2 separate regions of the Homo sapiens genome follow, and region 1 is linked to region 2. Evidence: promoter capture Hi-C in human tissues and cell types (Jung and others, 2019). All regions are on one chromosome and are shown on one strand. Each heading gives the region's core, a stretch centred on a gene start or on the middle of the fragment in contact. The rest is flanking DNA. Distances are from core to core; before and after follow the strand shown. Region 1 overlaps TMEM132C (transmembrane protein 132C). Region 2 holds the start of TMEM132C (transmembrane protein 132C).

Evidence for each region. The method cuts DNA at HindIII sites, captures the fragments that hold promoters and counts their contacts. A contact is called where the count stands out against the background at its distance.
Region 1: a contact is called between a fragment that was not itself captured here and the fragment with the promoter of TMEM132C in region 2, in 2 of the 25 tissues and cell types used here (dorsolateral prefrontal cortex and mesendoderm cells).

The regions. Positions count from the first base shown.
Region 1 is chr12:128,365,331-128,370,210 of GRCh38, reverse strand. The region is part of intron 1 of TMEM132C (transmembrane protein 132C); the gene reads right to left. Among named protein-coding and RNA genes, the nearest start is that of MIR3612, 74 kb to the right of the region's middle. The HindIII fragment of the contact is 5,400 bases long and covers 1-4,339 here.
Region 2 is chr12:128,263,692-128,268,538 of GRCh38, reverse strand. TMEM132C (transmembrane protein 132C) reads right to left here and starts at 1,369. Exons shown (of 9, transcript NM_001136103.3): 1 at 1,052-1,369. The coding sequence starts at 1,136. It overlaps LOC107987176 (a long non-coding RNA gene), which reads left to right and starts at 1,507. Exons shown (of 2, transcript XR_001749176.1): 1 at 1,507-1,968; 2 at 4,766-4,847. RefSeq lists enhancers at 328-1,166, 1,702-2,223. The HindIII fragment of the contact is 10,344 bases long and covers 1-3,240 here.

The sequences.
Region 1 (4,880 bases), core at 390-2,889, 100 kb before region 2:
ATCTCCCTGCACACCTGAGCCCTAAGACTGGCAGGGGGCTTGCTGGCCAGGGCATCTGCCCATCTAAGCTCAGGCCCCCAGGAAGTCAACAGTGGATTTGTTCCATGAAATGGTGTACGATAAGCAGGTGCAGAGGACTCTGGCAGATATGGAAAGGCAGAAAAATTTAGTGCAAAAAGGGAAGACTTTCAAGAAATGCAAGATCCATCAGCAATAAACAAGGGCCTAGAGCCCAACTCTTGCTTTTAAACCCATACTAATGTTTGGGATGGATTTCTAGCCAGGGAAACGCTGTGGCAGATATATCATGATGCATATACTAATTTAGGCTCATATATGAGGGTCTCCAAAATAGGAACAAATGAGGAACCAAAACGTGTGCACAACAGGACTGAAGCTTCCATGGCAGCACGCCTCGATGAAACAAGCCACAGCTTCAAGGCGTTGTCAGTGGCAGCCTTAGGTTTTGGGTGAGAACAACCACTGAACAGGACACATGTCCATCCCAAGGCTGAAACTTGAGAAGAAAAACCATGACCCAGGCAATCATTTTGAGTGATAACTGTGGAGTCTTTTATTCAAATGAATTGGAAGTAATGATGGGTTACAATGCCTGGGTCTTTACTCTCTGCCAAATGCCTGTGTTACCTCCTGCTGTACCCAGTTAAACAGCCCTAGTTAAGCATGAATGCTGAAGCATGAATCATCTGCATCACCAAAACAAGATATGCAACCTGTAAAGCCTCAGTTTTCTCAGCTGTAAAATGGGAATGATCACAGAACTTCCTCTGATTTGGCATCAATGTTTTCATAGTAAACATTGTATCGATGTTTTCATAGTGAACATTGTATTAATGTTTACTAATAAAATGAGTTTTTAATAATAAAATGAGTTTCTAAAAAAACATTGTATTGAGTTTAATGCTCAGTCCAATAGTATTAAACTCATCATTTTAAGTATCAATGAGATAATCTGTGTAAAGTGAATGAGATAATCTGTGTAAAGTGCTTAAGACAGTGTCTGGAATTTAAGAAGGCTTAATAAACAAGAGTTACCAGCAACTTCATTATCACCATCCTCATCTCATTATCATATTTGTCACTGTCATAAAAAGTAAATGCCTTACTAGACTTACCAGTATTCCAATAAGTAAAATCAGCAAATAACCACCATCCACTCACACCTTCTCAGGACACTGAAATGCCCCCATAGAACCTGGAGGGAACAGGAGCTTGCAAAGCACATCCCTGGAGTATTTTTCTAAGTCATCCCTAGTGATCTCAGGGAATTCTCTAGAGTCTCAGGGGCGAGTTCAGTTCCCCAAAGCCTCTCTTCGTGCCTTTGGTGTGCCTTCCTCTAAGCTGCTGCACCAACCTTGAGAAAGGACTCCCTGACTCTCAGTCTCCCGCTTTGTGGAATGGGCTGGCAGTGCTTGTCTTGGATGTGAGATAAAAAACATAAAACAGTTACCTAAAAACAGTGAGCAGAAAACATGCTCTGTATTTCATACCTTGTGGAGAGACAAGATGCTTTCCAACCAATGGATGTTCCTCCAAGGCCAGAAGTGAAATTTCTTCTTCAAGGGCATCTGGGCATACCTTACACCTTCATGCCCACCCTCCTTTGCTAAATCAAGGATGGTCATCATTGTAATAACAGCAAACATTTCCAGAGTGATGACTATGTGTCAGGAACCGGAGCGATTAATTAACCCTTTCACTAAGCCCAGGAGGACCTTCTTATCATCTTCGCTACTTTAGGAAGGGAGAAACGAAGACCCAGAAAGTTTAAGTAGGTAAAGTGCCCAAGATTGACTGGACCTTTTCGGAGCTAGACTGGATTCAAGCATGTTTGTTTGGTCCCAGAGGTGGCAGTCATAACCACTGCGCTACCTTGCTTCAAATCTGGCTTCCCTGACACTCAAACCAAATGGACGTTGCTTCCGGCTGTAAAGCAGAGCAGCGGGGACAAATTAGTCCTGAGCTGCAAGCTGCTATGCAGACTGTGGCCTTCATAAAAGCTCCTAGCTAGTGGGGATGAACTATGCCCCATGTCCATTTGCCAAGTGGGGCACCCTGGCTGGTGGCTAGATCTTCCTGGAAGATGGGGTATTGTCTCCTTCTTGGTCTGCGCAGAAGCATCAGCTTTTTCTAATTCACGCAAAGTTGCCATGTATAAAGCCAGAGCTCTGATAATGTCCTTTATTATCTGACCTCTTTCATCTCCAAAGTCCGGCTGACAGCAGTTAGCACGGTCTAGACCAGCCGCCACTGTCTAATAGAAATAGAATGCAAGCCTCAAATATGGGCTAAATATAATAGTATATTTCCTAGTAACCACATTACAGAGGAAAACAGAAGCAGAAGAAATTAATTTTAATAACATTTTATTAAACCAAATAAAACAAAAATATTATCATTTGAACATGTAATCACTATGTAAATTATTCATGTGATTTTTTTTTTTTACTTTTTTTCATACTATGCTTTCAAAATCTGGTATTTCATACTTACAGCTCATCGCAGTTTGGACTAGCCTCATTTCAAGGGTTCACAAGTACACTTGGCTACTGCACTGGACAGGGAAGGTCTAGAATCACTGGGAAATGGCCACTCCAGTGGACTCCTGGTCTCTGTGCGCTTGCTAGGGGCAGTGCCAGAGCCCTTGGACTGTGCCAGGGAATCATTAACCCAAACTGGAGCCCATCAGATGGGACTGTTGACTATGCACACCTCACTATTGTTTTCCAACCCTCTGGGGTGGAGAGTAGCATTGTCACCTAGGTGAAGCTGCCAAAAACACCTCACCAGAAAAGCTATTTTTCTCTCCTGAAGGTGACCATTTTGCATAATGAGCACAGAACACAGAGCTCAAGTATTTAGCATCTGGAAGAAATGTGACTTCAGGACTGTGCTTCAAGAACAGACACATCTCTGGACGTGTTCTGGAAACTGATCAACCTCTTATCAAAACCCCTAGTGATCCAGACCTGGCCTTCCCCTCCAAGCTCCTGCCTTGAACAACTTCCTTTCCTTCCCTAAGCCCCTGTCACAATGGCTGCCTTTCCTTCTGGTCCAGGGCTTCATTTTCACCTACCTCAGGGCCTTTGCATGTTCTAGTTTCACATTCTAGAATGCTCTTCCCAAGTCTGGTTCCATCTTTTCATTCTGGCCCCAGCTCAGTCATCACCTCTGCAGAAAGCCCTTCAAGAATATCAAAGCCAAGTTCTTCCCCAGGTCCTCACTCCCATGTCACCCATGTGACTTACTTCTGCACACATTTCTGAATTCACGTGATTGCTTAAGCACTTGCTTATTTTTGGCCTCTGTCCACAGGAATGTCATGTAGGACCCTGTCTTTCCGACTCAGGACTCTCTTTCCCTAGTATGTAACTCTGCACGCAGCACATAAGACGTACTTAATACATGCATATTAATTAAGTAAATAAAGCTGGAAGGGGTCTTACAACACTTCCAGTGCCATCCCCAAATTTCATAGATGAGGCTTCTGAAACTCAGAAGGAGGAACTGGCTTGACCACTCAAGGGCACCAAAAGGGTTCTCCCACTATCTTCCCTGCTGCCTGTGTGAGGCTGGGGCACGTTTCCATCTCACAAGCCTCAAACTTACTGAACAGGGTGGGAGACAAGGGCCATTTCCATGCCCTGTTTCCTGAGAGGTCAGATGGCCACCGGAGATCCAGAGAACCATCAAAGAGTTCTGTGATCCGGGGCTATAAGAAGCCGCGTCCAGCTGAGGAGCCAGAAGGTCATTAAGGGTGGCTGCATGCTCTGGTGATGCATTGTTTTAAACCCCATTCTGCAGGAGCAGCTAAGGAAAGTCAGCAAGTTCGCACTGTGCAGTTGTCCACGCTGGGGGGAAATGGCACTAACAGTCTGAATCCAACAGTCTGAACAGTTCCCTCAAAGGCTAGAAAACCGGGTAGGGGACAGGGGAGGTAAAAAAGGAAAAGCAGACAGCATAGAGGTCTGGAGTCTGTCGCTGGGAGGAGAGCCGCGGGCGACACAGGCAGCGACGCACAGCACCTTCTCCCTTCCCGGCCCTGGGCTGGAGGCCGAGCAGGCGCCTCATCCTTGCAACACACATCTTGTCTGTGTGAGCCCCGCAAAGGGAAGTGCATTCACAGCGCCTTCCGAAACACCATCTCGGCAACAAAGCGGGCAATGTGTTTAATCACGGCCCGCGGATCCAGCTGAGTTTACAGCAGTGGGTGGCTTTCAAACCTAACATTGGATCAAAATGAAAAAGTGGCCCTTCCTTTCACCCCGTGACAAGCCTGCGCGTATAAATCACAGCCTTCCCGGGGAGGGCTCCTCGGCACACAATCAACGGGGCAGCCTGGCCACCTCCATCCCCATCTGGACAAAGGGGGCTGGGAGTTTTCAAGGGGCCCAGGAGTTTTTAAAGGCCCCTTGTAAAAATGAAACTCAGACACTATTCGGAGCACAACTGTGGGGGCAGGGAGAGGAGCCATCCTCGGAGATTTGCATTTTATTTGGTTTGAGAGCTCAATGGAAATCACAGCTCCTGCTGGAACCGGTACTCCAACAACCACGGCTAAAATCAGAGGCGAGGAGGCATTTTTAGTTTCCAGACATAATATGCTTTCCGGCTCTAAGAAAAGAGAATTCAGAAATGTGAATTTGGTCGGGAAAGAAGTAGGGGGAGGACAATTCTTACATTAGTAAAGTCACTTAATTAATAGTCAAAGTATGCTAATAATAGCAATAATAGCATATTAGAACTATAATAGAACTAATAATAGTAATAGTATAATAGTGTAAAATAATATCTAATAGTATAATGATAATGACAACAGCAGCAACGGGTAAGAGCTTCCCTGAGTACTCACACCAAGC
Region 2 (4,847 bases), core at 120-2,619:
GAACCCGAGACCTTCGCCAGGGCGCGGGGAGCAGGAAAGCGACGCTCTCCTTTTTCTACGCCCTGGGCGCGCCCCGGGACTCGGGCAGCTGCTGCCCTGGCAGAGCCTAGGCCTTGCTCCCCGCCTGCCCCGCGGCTCCTGGGGCTGGAGACCGCCTCTCCCCGCCCTTCCCGCCGCCGCATCCGCGCGGCCACTCGGCCGCACACGCACATAATAAAAAAGGTCGGAAAAACCACACGGCTACCTTTCGTGAGCCCTGCGGGCGCCATACGTTAACTCCTTTAAATTCCTCCAACCCAAAGCAGGGCCGTCACTCCCATTGTAGAGAAGAGGACACTGAGGTGAAGGAGCCCCGGACAGGACCGCTGGTGAGGTAGTTCCCGTCGCGAGGGACGCACCCACCTCCCCATCCGCGCTCCCCCACCGCAAAGGACTCATTTGAGAGAACCCGCAGAGAGCCCCTGGTTTCTGCCAAGCTGGGGTCCCTGGTGAGCTGCGCGATGAGTGAGCGTTCCTCTAGGGCCCGCACAGAGACCCTAGCGGTTGCGGAAAGGGGATGCAAAGAACCGGGCCTTCCCTCCTGGAGCACCAGCCCCACAGTGCCGAAGCTGTGGATGGGGAGCTGTGGACAGGGAGCACACAGCCGGGAGGAAGGAGCGCACAGAGCGGAGCACCTCTCCTGGATGCCAGTTCCACAGGGTGACTGTGCTGGGGCTGGGGCAGGTCCGCACGGAACTCAGGGATGGGGAACAAACACCGTGTCCCTCAGCCACGCCCCCTCCTCATCCGCGGGGCAGCTCTGGGTCTGGGGGGTCCGGGGTGGGAGATTCGGGACTCGGGACCAGCCTAACTTGCCCGGATCCCGGCGCCCAGCTGGGAGCGCCCTTCTGGATTAGGGGCGGCTCGGCACCCGCAGAGGCGCTGTTGATGGGATCCGAGCCCCCGCCGAGGCCCCCGCCGCACCCCTCGCTTCGGCTGCCCTCACCCCGAGCTCCCCCGGAACCGGGAAGTTCGCATGCGTCGGCGCGCCAGGCACCCGCCCCGGCCTTACCTTTGCCCAGCAGCGCGCCCAGCAGCAGGCTCAGCGCCCCGCACAGCGGCGCCGCCGGCCCGGGGGCCGCACCCTCGGAGCGCATCCTGCGTCCCGGCCGCTCACGCAGCCCGCCGCCAGCCCGAAGCGCAGCGCCCGCCCGCGGCCCCCGCCGGCCGCCCCATGCCCGGGGCCACTCCCGCAGCCCGGTCGGCCGGGCCCGCTGCGTCTCTGCTGTCCGAGGCCCGCCCCTGCCGGGTCCACGCCGCCGCAGCTCCGGCTCTGGCTCTGGCGGCTCCGGCTCCGCCGCTGCTCGCGCTCCGGCCGGGACAACTTTTCTCCCGCAGCCTCCGCAGCCTCCGCAGCCGCCGGCCCGCCCCGCCCCCGGCCCCGCCCCCGCCCCCGCCCGGGCCCCGCCCCCGCCGAGCCCCGCGACCGCGGACAGATTGAGGGTGCGGTAGGAGAGAGTTCGCCTGCCCGCCGGGAGGGGCGGCAGATGGAGAACCCCCCCGCCCGGGCTAGGGAGGGTGTGCCCGGGAAAGAAGACCGGGAGAGGAGGGGGCGTCTCCCCAGGCGGCTGGGACGGCTCCTCCGGGGGTCCGCGCCTTTCCAGAGAAACTCAGCGTTCGCAGACTCCTGCCCGGGTGCCCAACGGACAGCGGCCCGTGGCCCGGAGGGTCCTGCCCAGGGACCCGACGCTCAAGGCGGAGCTGGACTCCTTCTCCCCACCCTCCCGTGGTCACTGCGGGACCTGGTGGTCGTCACGCCCCATTCCTCAACTTCAGGTGGCCGCTGCTTTAGCCTGGAGGGCTGGGGACATCTGGAATGCAAAGTCCCGCGCAGCTGCTGCGGGGAGAGCTCCTAACTGGATCACTGAGCGCGGAAAAGCAGCGCGCAGCGGAGCGTGAAGGCGGGGTGCGGGCTCAAGACAGATGCGGGTGTGCACCTGTGCGTGTGCGGAGGGGGCGAGGCACGAGATCACAGCGGTGTCTCTGGGAAGGGGACGAGAACGCAGAGGGGAAGAAAGGATCATTTTTCACTGCATGTCTGTGGGGCTTCCACTCCCCAATCATCTCCCCGCCGCCCATAGCATGTGTTTTATTATCTTTTCAGTGGGTGGAGAATAGCCCCTCTCTAGACTTGCTCCTGCAATAGGCAATTTCTCTGCAGACTCAGACAAGGAAGATCCGCCCTCCCCCCCCCCCCCCCGACTTCGTTCTCTCTATCTTTTCCCTCTGATTTCTCCAGGGCTGGCCTCCCTCATGGTGGTGATCCCAGGTGATCTCAGCGGCTTCCCTGTGCGGTTCCTGATGCTCATGCTCTGCTCTTTCTGCCACGCGTGGTCTGAGCAGTTTGAGGGCGGGACCCCGACTCCCCCCTTGTGACTGGGAATGAAGGGCCATGGGTTCGGAGGTCTCTGGACGTCCCCTCCTGTCCTGAGCTCCTCACCACGGGCTCAGCATCCCCTCTCACCGTGGGCTGGCTCGGTCCAACATCAAAAGGAAGCCTGAGGGGTCTTTTCTCACCATCAGTGCAGGAAAGAATTTCAAAAGAAAAAAAGAAGTCCTTGATTGAAAGAAAAGAAATGTAAACGAATGATCCCCAGCAACTGCAACCCCAAGTCTTATCTCCCAACTCAGCCCCTAAGGAATGAGCCAGGCATAAGGAGAAATTGGGGCGGGGTGGGGCGAAGGCTTTGCAGGGCACTGGCCAGAGTGGGAGGCTCTCTCCTGGGGTGGGGCCCGGAAGTCTGGGCCAGGCTGGGGGGAGATGTCTCCCTGGTTTTCTTGGCCGGCTCTACTCACATGATGTGAGGAGAAGGCAGCTTGAAAACTATCCAGGCCCCAAAGGGAACGGTAAAAGCTTGATTCTCATAGGCCTGGATAGCAGAGACTTGATTTTTAAAGTGGATTATGCTGATAATCGCCCAATTCTTCAGTACATTCAGCTAGTGTAGACCTGACCTTGGGGGCAGGGGGCAGTTGTAAAGTAGATTTGGGCTCCTAAAACGGAAGGTACGTTTTATTCTCAGTGCTTTGAGCCTGAACATCACCGGGGAATAATTTTTTTTTCATTTAAATGTTCCCAGCATGAGGGAGAAATACACATGTCCCATTGTTTGTAACTGAGGATGGGAATCTGCCTTATCCTCTCTCCTCCCTATTGGATAACAGGGACAAAAAATAAAAACCCAAAGAAGTGCCCTCCACTCCCCTGTTCTATGCAGCCTCATAATGTACCTTCTTTCCACATCATTTCTTTCCTTTTGGCACAGAACATTGCTGTCCCTACTGCAAAGACAAGTCAGGTCCTGGACTACATCTCTGTGATGCAAATAATCAAAACCAGGGGCTACCAAACAAGCCACAGCAAAATAAATACTAATTCAACATGGGGTTGGAGTGGGGAAAGGATTCTCAATCAGATAAGCTCACTGCACAGCACCCCAAAGGCAGCCACTGTCTTCAGGTGATCCTGAATCACAGATGCCCCTTGAGACTATGATGCCTCCGGGCATCCCCTGTGAGAGCCTTCAGGAGACCCAGCAAATGAAAGCTTCTCTGCAAACCTTCCTTTAGGACTCCATTTAATCTATTGCGTGTCCCTCTCAAGAGCAGTCAAACAAACATGCACACAAAACTGAACAAACAAATAAAACAGATGATATAGTCAATTTCTCTTTCATAGGTAAATCCACAAAAATTGAGGTTCATGGGCTAATAAAGTTTTCTGTATTTATTTTTTTTAAGTCATGTATCATTTAACCCCCAAATCATTAATTCCTTAACTTAGATTACTTCCAGATGGTTTTCTGAATTTCATAAGGAACATCAGAGGCTTCTAATCTCCTCAAAGGCTGTTGCAGAATTCCTTAAGGACTGTGGGCACATGGAAGCACTTAACATAATTTATGGGAGAGGAGAATGATTGGAAAGAGGAAACCTGCTGCTTCCACAGGGTTTCAGGGTTCCTAAGTCAATGAGGCAACTTCAGATTGTTTTGTTCATGCTTAAATGTTAAATTGTGAATATCGCATAAAATGAGGGGTGGAACTTGTGATTTTAGTTCAAAGGCTTCTTGCATTGTCTACCTGTAGACGGGACATATGGGTATATATTGCCGAGGACATGGAAAAGAAAGGCTATATGTTGGCCTCATGAAACAGCTATGGTCATCCCGCAAACTGAGTATCAAGTCCTGACTATGGTGCTTACTATTAGCGATTAAAAAATGAGGAAGAAGGAAAAAAGGGAGAAAAATGATAGAAAGGTCTATGCTTAGTTCTGTGTCCTGTCATTGTTCTTAAAACATATAGGCACTATCTGATTTAATCCTCTTCACACTCGTGGGGTGTATTATTATTATCCTTGGACATTTTATTCATTCATTCATTCATTTAACAAATAGGTGTCACTTGCTTACTATTTGTCAGGCCCAAATTTTGGGGTTTTGCCAGTGAACAAAATAGACGAGAGTCCTAAATTCATGGACCTTACATTCTAGTGGAGGATGCAGACTCTAAAGTAATATACAAGTAATTGTATCTGTTAATGCAGTGATATGTGTTGTGAACAAAAATAAAGCAAAATAAGGGAAAAGTCTGATTTGGGGGTGCAACTTTAGGAAGGTGGGTGAAGTGAGAGCAATTTTTGGGAAAAGAGCTTCTCAGGCTGATAAAAATGAAAGTGCAAAGACACTAAGCTGGAGTCCTGAAAGGTCTTATTTTTCTTTCAGAAGGATCACTCTGGCCAATTGTAGACCACAGCCTATAGGAGTAGCCAAGGAAGCCTGAAGTCTAATTAAGAGCTGGTTCAAG